Linked DNA regions of Homo sapiens: region 2 is linked to region 1. Evidence: promoter capture Hi-C in human tissues and cell types (Jung and others, 2019). All regions are on one chromosome and are shown on one strand. The core of a region is centred on a gene start or on the middle of the fragment in contact, and the rest is flanking DNA. Distances in the headings are between cores, read along the strand shown. Region 1 holds the start of MED6 (mediator complex subunit 6). Region 2 overlaps SLC39A9 (solute carrier family 39 member 9).

Region 1 (4,026 bases), core at 242-2,741:
CTTCAAAGAAGTCAGACCTAATTCAAGGTGACAGGCAGTTTTGAGCCAAGTGACTCAACCGAGAAAAATTATATAAAGGTAAAATGTACTTTGTGTGCTATAAAATAAAGGAGGAGACAGATGAAGTGCGTTAATAACCAAATAATTAGTATAGACCATTTAGATAGTTCATCATAACTGGATCATGCAATAACCAAATACACAACAGGCCAGGAAATAACATTTTCAGAAATGGCCTCCTAACTGGTTTTCCTAATTCTACCCTTGCCCTCCTACACTGTTCCCAGCAGCCAATGTAGTCCTAAAAAAAAGTCAGATCACATCATTCCTCTGATGGAAACCCCTCCAATGGCTCTGCGTTTTACTCAGAGGAAAAGCCAAAGACCTTATCATAGCTTTCAACACCTTTCTGACTTCATCTCCTTCCCACATCCTCTCTCACTACCCTCCAGCCACACTGACCTCCTTGCTGTTCCTTTAACACACCAAACACACTCTTATTTTAGAGTCTTTGCCATGATCCTAACAATCTGAATTATAAGTAAAACATTTTATAAACTAAATATTTCTCTTTTTTATTCTGTAGCAAGGCAACATGTTGACATAGCCCAAGCATTCTAACAGCATTCTAACCATCAGCAAGTGATGAAATAAATAATGAAAGACACGTATGTAAAATCATGATCCAGAAGTGCTGCAGATCGCCAGATAAGTATAAATGAGAATATTTGTAATAAATGTGTTAGACCCCAATCCAGTTAATATTAAAAAAAGGCATCTCAAACATCTCCCTTTAAAAATCAAGTACTATATACACAAAAACAACTCTACATGCTCCCCAAGATCAAGCAGCAGTTAAGGGGTGACATCTCCATACATTTATTCACTGACTGATTCAATATTTGAGTACTTCTGCAGTTCAGCTGTGAAAAAAATACGACCCCTGCCCATAATAATTGCTGGACGTTCGATGTAAAGTATTATCGACTCAAAAAAAAAGAAAATATCTGGGATTCATGCTCAGGGACCCGTGTGGCGCGGTCTAAAGAATTAGGCAGCCACCATGCCAAGTCCCAAGAGATGAATCAAATCAAGTTGGCTTATTACCCCATTCCCTTCTCTGCCTAAACGCCATTCCTTCACTCCAATAGAATAGCCCTAATGTTGTTGCAGAGATACGTGTGTAGAACAAAACTCCAGCTCTGAAAGCTCAAAACCCAGAGCTTCTTCCAACCCCTTCTCTCCGACGCTTCCAAGAGACGCTCCAAGAACTCAGAAAAAAAAAAAAACTCGTCAACGTTTCGCTAGATCACAGCCTTGGGTTGTCCACAAAAACCACTCAAAAAAGCTTGAGACTTCACACAAAGGAACCTAAACCTTGAAACCGCGAGCTATAACATCCCAAACTGGTCCACAGACAATCAAGAGACAAAATATAGCAATACAGTATACCTCGGATATCCACCGCCGCCATAATTCCGAGAGCGTTTACAGGTTCTCTTTCCGGCGCAAAGTAAACGTAAGCCTAGGCCGCCGGAAGCAGCGGGTTGAAGAGAGTGCGCATGGGTGAGGAGGGACGTAGAGCGGAAGAGGGGGCGGGGCGGGCAGGAGAGAGGCAGGGGGTGGAGGTGCGGGTGGGAGGGGAGGAGACGCGAGGGGGCGGAAAGCGGGAGAGGCGCGGGAGGCGGGAAACGTGGGGTGGGGTGGGGTGGGGTGGGGTAGGGGAATGGGAGGGGACGGGACGCAGAAAGATTGGTGCAGGGGAGCAGGGAAAGACTAGAAGAGGGATGGGCCAAAGAAGGAGAACGGGAGGGCGGATTACTGGGAAAAAAATTAGAAGACTTAGAGGACAGAAAGACCGAGTGGAGTCCCGCCCCACGCCCACCACTGATGGAAGAATTCTGCCTTGATCGTCTGTGATCGTCAAGAAAACAAATTCTGATGCTGTAGAGTTGTGCTTGGGAGTGTCTCTTAATTTTAAAAGCTCCCCGGGTGTATCCACTGAGCTATCAGATTTAGGAACGATGGTCATTTATATTTTTCTCCCTGCCTCAGGTATTGGGATGGGACAGGACTTAAGAATTTGGGAGTCATTGGCTTTTATGTGACTAAATCCATTAAAAATCTAAACCAATTAAAGAAGCCTCTGAGAAAAATTTCACAACACAGGAAATGCTTCTGAAGTGAAATATTAATAAGATTAAGAGAAAGGGAATACCCCTGGGTCCCAGAGTAATGAGCAAATGTCTGCATTCCAAGTAGTCTGGAGTAGGTAGCAAGGCTCCAAAGAGGGAATGATTCTGTGTACGGGGAAGCTACAGAAAGCCTCAGATTCTCAAGCTTCAGTGTGGCTCTGTAAAAGCAAAACGATACAGAAATATGCAAACAACACACAGATACTAGGAAGAGGATGCCAAAATCTGAAGGAGGGATGAGGGCGGGTGCCTACATCTTCTCCAAAACTTAGGTACTGTGAAGACTCCCCAAGAATTTAACCACAACCCAGGAGCAAGAGGGGAAGACCAGAAATTTAATTGGGATTTTCAACCTCATAGACAAGGAATTAAAAATTTGTTAACTCCGTAGAATAAAAGTACGTTGCCTGTACATTTCAGTTTGGGAATTTTCTGCCTGAGATGGTATGTATAAAATAGGTGTCCCAACAGAAGTATGTGCATGCACAGAGTAAAGTTTTGAGAGAGAATTTTTCAGGAGGGCCTGGTTGGGAGCCTAGTGGGAGGACATTGCAAAAAGGAAGAGTATCGTGTCCAATAAAAAGTGTGATCCATAAAGCTTTTTGTTTTGTTTTTCTAGTTTTTTGTTTCCTTGTGTTTTGATTAGGCTAGAAGGAGATTAGGAAGAATAGTGACAGAATGCAGATCTGTAGATAATAAAACATATGGTATGCATGGTAAATAAGACCTGGAAGCTCAACCTTTATTTTGTAGGCAATGGGAGAAATGTGATCAAGCTTCCATTTTAGAAAGATAACTTGAGGAAGACAGGGCAAGGTGGCTCACGCCTGTAATCCCAGCACTTTGGGAGGCCAAGATGGGAGGATTGCTTGAGCCCAGGAGCTGGAGACCAGCCTGGTCAAGATAGCGAGATCCCATCTCTATTTCTTTTATATTAATTGTTTCAGTTAATAAAGAAATATAAATTAAAAAGTGTGGTAACAAAAACAAGAGAAGACAAGATAGGGAGGAAGCCACTTTGGGTAGGACAGTCAGGACAGGCCTCTCTGAGGAAGTGATACCTGAGATGAGACCTGGAAGATGAAAGCAAATCACTCATGTGAAGAGCTGGGGCACAAGCATATCAGACAGAGGGGACCATGGACCCTACAGTGGGAAAGGGGTTGGTCTGAGAACCACAGAAAGGCCAGTGTAAGCCGGGTTGTATGAGTGAAGGATGAATGATGGGAAAAGAGACTGGGAATGAAGGCAGGGGCCAGATGATAGAGAGCCTGGTCAATAATTTATTTTTTATTCAAAGAACATAGGAAGCTATTAAAAGATTTGAATGAGTAGAATGCCACAAAGGTTCTGACTGGAAATTTGTTTATGGATGTCAAAAGTATTTGTTGTGCTTATTGAGCCACTTACTATGGACGAGGCACTGTGCTAAGCACTTTGACGAACTATCTAGTTGTTCCCTCAAAACAATTTTATGAGGCAGAAGCTATTACTCCCATTTTTAAATGAGGAGACGGACTGAGGCAGATGAGCTAGCTTTTCACCAAACTTATTATCTACTTGGGTATACAGCTAAGCTATATTTTCCACCACCCTTGCACCTGGATGGAGCTACATAGCCAGTTCTCATCAAGGGACTGTGAATGGAAGTGATAAGTGTTACCTCCAGGCCAAGACAGTGAAAAACACTGGTTCCATCTTCACTTTCTCTCTCTGTATTCACCAGCTAGATGCCAGAGAAACCTAAGGTCATGGATTGAAAGTGGTGGTGATGGGGAGTTGGGGGGCTGGGGTCTCTGAATGACTGACCACAGGTGCTGAGCCACCTTGC
Region 2 (4,190 bases), core at 502-3,001, 1.2 Mb before region 1:
CAAGAGTTACTTCATAGCCTGTGATATTTTATCTCTTCAGTGCCTAAAACTTTGAAGGGATCAATCTTATGATAAGAGATGTACCTTTGATTTTTTTTTTTTTTTAGGAAGCTGTAGTTGACACTTTGACTACTAAAATGGGCATGGCACAAGGAAAATTGAGATAAAATGTTTTCCGTATCAAAAGCTTTTAAAGACTGGATGCGGTGGCTCATGCCTGTAATCCCAGTACTTTGGGAGGCCAAGGCTGGTGGATCACTTGAGGTCAGGAGTTTGAGACCTGCCTGGTCAACATGGTGAAACCCTGTCTCTACTAAAAATACAAAAATTAGCTGGGCATGATGGCACATGCCTGTAATCCCAGCTACTCAGGAGGCTAAGGCAGGAGAATCGCTTGAACCTGGAAGGTAGAGGTCGCAGTAAGCCAGGTTCACACCACTGCATTCCAGCCTGGGTCATAGAGTGAGATTCCATCTCAAAAAAAAAAAAAAAAAAAAACTTTAAAAATTGTTGGCTTGTCTTTAGGTGAACCAATTTGTTGACTGTTTCTGTGAGCAGGGAAAGAAAGACCATTTAATTACCTTGGTGTCTGCCAAGAAATATTAAACTGACTTCAAAGCTTGTGCTGATGGTTAACGGCATAGAGTGCAAGCTGTTGTTTTAATTAATGTATCTAGCAGATCCTTTGGTTCAGTCAGGCTGCAACTGTGAACTTCTAAAATGAGATAACATAAAACCAATGGCATTGCACAGTTCATGCCTCTCCTGAGCAAATACTTCATTTCACTGACAGAAACTGTTGGTTTGGGAACTGTCTTTTGATCTTGAATGACACTTGGAATTTGTAGTTCTCCATTTAAATAAACTTTTTAGTGATTTACCATAAGCAAAAGAAAGAACCTGTCAGCATTTTGTTAACTTTAATATAAACACAACTTGAGATTGAATCCCAAGTTGTGTGAAAGAATACAGCCATACAAATACATGAAGCCACAATTCTAGCGCTTAAAATAAATCAGATTGAGTCTAAAATGATCAGGTAAAGAATTTTTTTTTTTTTTTTTTTGAGACGGAGTCTCGCTCTGTCGCCCAGGCTGGAGTGCAGTGGCGGGATCTCGGCTCACTGCAACCTCTGCCTCCCAGGTTCAAGCGATTCTCCTGCCTCAGCCTCCCGAGTAGCTGGGACTACAGGCACATGCCACCATGCCCAGCTCATTTTTGTATTTTTAGTAGAGATGGGGTTTCACCATGCTGGCTAGGATTATCTCGATCTCTTGACCTCGTGATCCGCCTGCCTCAACCTCCCATAGTGCTGGGATTACAGGCATGAGCAACCGCACCCAGCCTATGGCCCTTTATTAAATGTATTTGCCGGCTGGGCACAGTGACTCACGCCTGTAATCCCAGCACTTTGGGAGGCCGAGGCGGGTGGATCACGAGGTCAGGAGATCGAGACCATCCTGGCTAACACGGTGAAATCCTATCTCTACTAAAAATACAAAAAATTAGCCGGGCATGGTGGCGGGCGCCTATAGTCCCAGCTGCTCAGGAGGCTGAGGCAGGAGAATGGCATGAACCCGGGAGGCGGAGCTTGCAGTGAGCCAAGATCACGCCACTGCACTCCAGCCTGGGCGACAGAGCAAGACTCCATCTCAAAAATAAATAAATAAATAAATAAATAAATAAATAAATAAATAAATAAATGTATCTGCATGCCCCTTGAGTGAAACTATCAATTCTGAATCAACTAATCACTGAAAATTCTTGATATAGTTACAAGGAATATATGAGGTCTATTTCCTGGCACAAATATTCTAAAGAGGTTCCGCTACATTTGTGTAATTGTTTGTATCAGAGCCCAGTGGCCGGTACCAAGTCCCCAGTGCTTTGCTTGGTGGTGGGCATTTAATTCATTCTTTCAATAAATATTTAGGGGAAACTGCTGTGTGCCAGATACTTCCTTATAAATTGAGAATTCAGCAGTAAATTAAAGATCTCTGCCCTGACAGAATTGGTAATTTTGTGGGGAAGGGGTTACAGGGACAAACAGTAAACATAGTGTTGAGTGGATATTTAACTTCATTTGGTAAATAAATGCACTTAATTTCAAAGTGAACTGAAAACAATACAATAGTTTTACCTCACGCTGCCTTTCTTCGAAGGAAATACTGCAAAGCTAGATGATTCATTCAGATTTACCTTGATGGTCTCATCCTACAAACTCAAATTCTTTGTTTCTGAATGTTTGATGGCATTATAATTTCATGTTTGCACTTAGATCAGGGTTTTCCAGCTTTTGGGTTTCATAGATCAGTCATATATTTAAAATTTCAAAGACTCGGCCAGGCGCAGTGGCTCACGCCTGTAATCCCAGCACTTTGGGAGGCCGAGGCAGGCAGATCACAAGGTCAGGAGATCGAGACCATCCTGGCTAACATGGTGAAACCCTGTCTCTACTAAAAATACAAAAAATAAGCCAGGCATGGTGGCAGGCACGTGTAGTCCCAGCTACTCGGGAGGCTGAGGCAGGAGAATGGCATGAACCCGGGAGGTGGAGCTTGCAGTGAGCCAAGATCATGCCACTGCACTCCAGCCTGGGCAACAGAGCGAGACTCCGTCTCAAAAAAAAAAAAAATTTTTTTTCAAAGAATCGATACAGGATTACCTCCTTTTAATTTTGCCATGTAAGGACACTAAAAATAAAAACAAAAACTGTTGTCACCATCATTTCTTAAAAGAAAGGACATTATAACCAAAATTAGGTAGGATATAATCTCAGAATAAAAAATAGATCTTTATATTGAAGAAATAAAGCTTTATGATGTGCTCACTGTATTGTCCTTATTTTATTTTGTCATGAACCATTAGAAACTGTCAATAGAGAAGAATTACAACTATTTATGATTTTGTTTTTTCTCTCGGTGTTGCTGAGGGATTTTGCTGATTCATACTATTTTGAAAGGTTGCATGAATATCATCTTTTTTGGAGATAAATTTTTTTATAATGGATTGTATGTATTATGCTATGCAGTGAGCATTGTCATGGAGTGCAATGCTGAATCTAATCATCCCTGTAACCACTAACTAGCTTAGTCATGTGATCTTGGGCAAATCACTTCTCATCTTTGGCCTTCGATTCTCCATCTATATATTGAGAGAAAATCATTTTTTATATTTTCTCCCAGTTCTTTAATTTGAATTGATAACTTTGGTAGCTAATATCCCTATTTTTAAAACATGGGTCTAAAGATTAATAAAAACCTTTACTGTGGCTTTCTAAAAACTTGCACCAAACTCCTGTTTATATTTCATATTCTTTTTTTTTTTTTTTTTTGAGAGAGGGTATCGCTCTGTCACCCAGGCTGGAGTGCAGTGGCACAGTCTCAGCTCACTGCAACCTCCGCCTCCTAGGTTCAAGCGATTCTCTCTCAGCCTCCTGAGTAGCTGGGACTACAGTTGTGCACCATCATACTCGGCTAAGTTTTGTATTTTTAGTAGAGACAGGGTTTCGCCATGCTGGCCAGGCTGGTCTCGAACTCTTTTCCTGCTTTTAAAACTTATCTCAATGTAGTTTTTCATGTGACCCTAGGGTAGAGTATTATGAAGCACTTGGTAAGTGCCTAGTGAATTGTGGGTTGATCCAGAATTGTGAACACCACTGGTTTCCCCATAATGTTACTGACATAAAATTGTGGTGAATTATTTTTGAGAAGTATCTGAATGGCAGATGAGATTGTTTAAGGAAAATTTTTGGAAGGGCCTTTTAGTATTCGAATTAGATCTCTGACCTTGATTTCAGAGAACTGCCGTGAGGAAAGAAGCCTTGTTAAAACTGAATATTCTAAAATGAATCCTTTCAGAAATCCTGGCTAAGTAAATTACTGCCCAGTTAATTTTTTTATAAATAGATAATTTTATAGAATGAAAGGTACAGATCTTAATATAGGTTGATGAATTTTAGCAAATGTTTACAAATGTAACATCCCAATCAAGATTTAGAACATATCTGTTATTCTAGAAAGTAACCTGATGCCACTTTCCAGTGAATCCCCACTGTGTGGCCACCCTCTCATCACTGGTCACCAGAGGCAGTCACTGTTCTGATTTCAATCTTTATAGATTAGTTTGGCCTGTTTTTAAACTTCATATACATTTATTCATACAGTATATACTCCTTTGTGTAAAGCTTC

The links. Contacts are between HindIII fragments. The study calls those that stand out against the background at their distance.
Region 2: a fragment that was not itself captured here is called in contact with the fragment with the promoter of MED6 in region 1 in 1 of the 25 tissues and cell types used here (aorta).

What each region holds. Positions count from the first base shown.
Region 1 is chr14:70,599,164-70,603,189 of GRCh38, forward strand. MED6 (mediator complex subunit 6) reads right to left here and starts at 1,492. Exons shown (of 8, transcript NM_005466.4): 1 at 1,453-1,492. The coding sequence starts at 1,474. RefSeq lists an enhancer at 994-2,193. The HindIII fragment of the contact is 4,302 bases long and covers 1-2,566 here.
Region 2 is chr14:69,410,735-69,414,924 of GRCh38, forward strand. All of the region lies in intron 1 of SLC39A9 (solute carrier family 39 member 9), which reads left to right. Among named protein-coding and RNA genes, the nearest start is that of SLC39A9, 14 kb to the left of the region's middle. The HindIII fragment of the contact is 3,498 bases long and covers 3-3,500 here.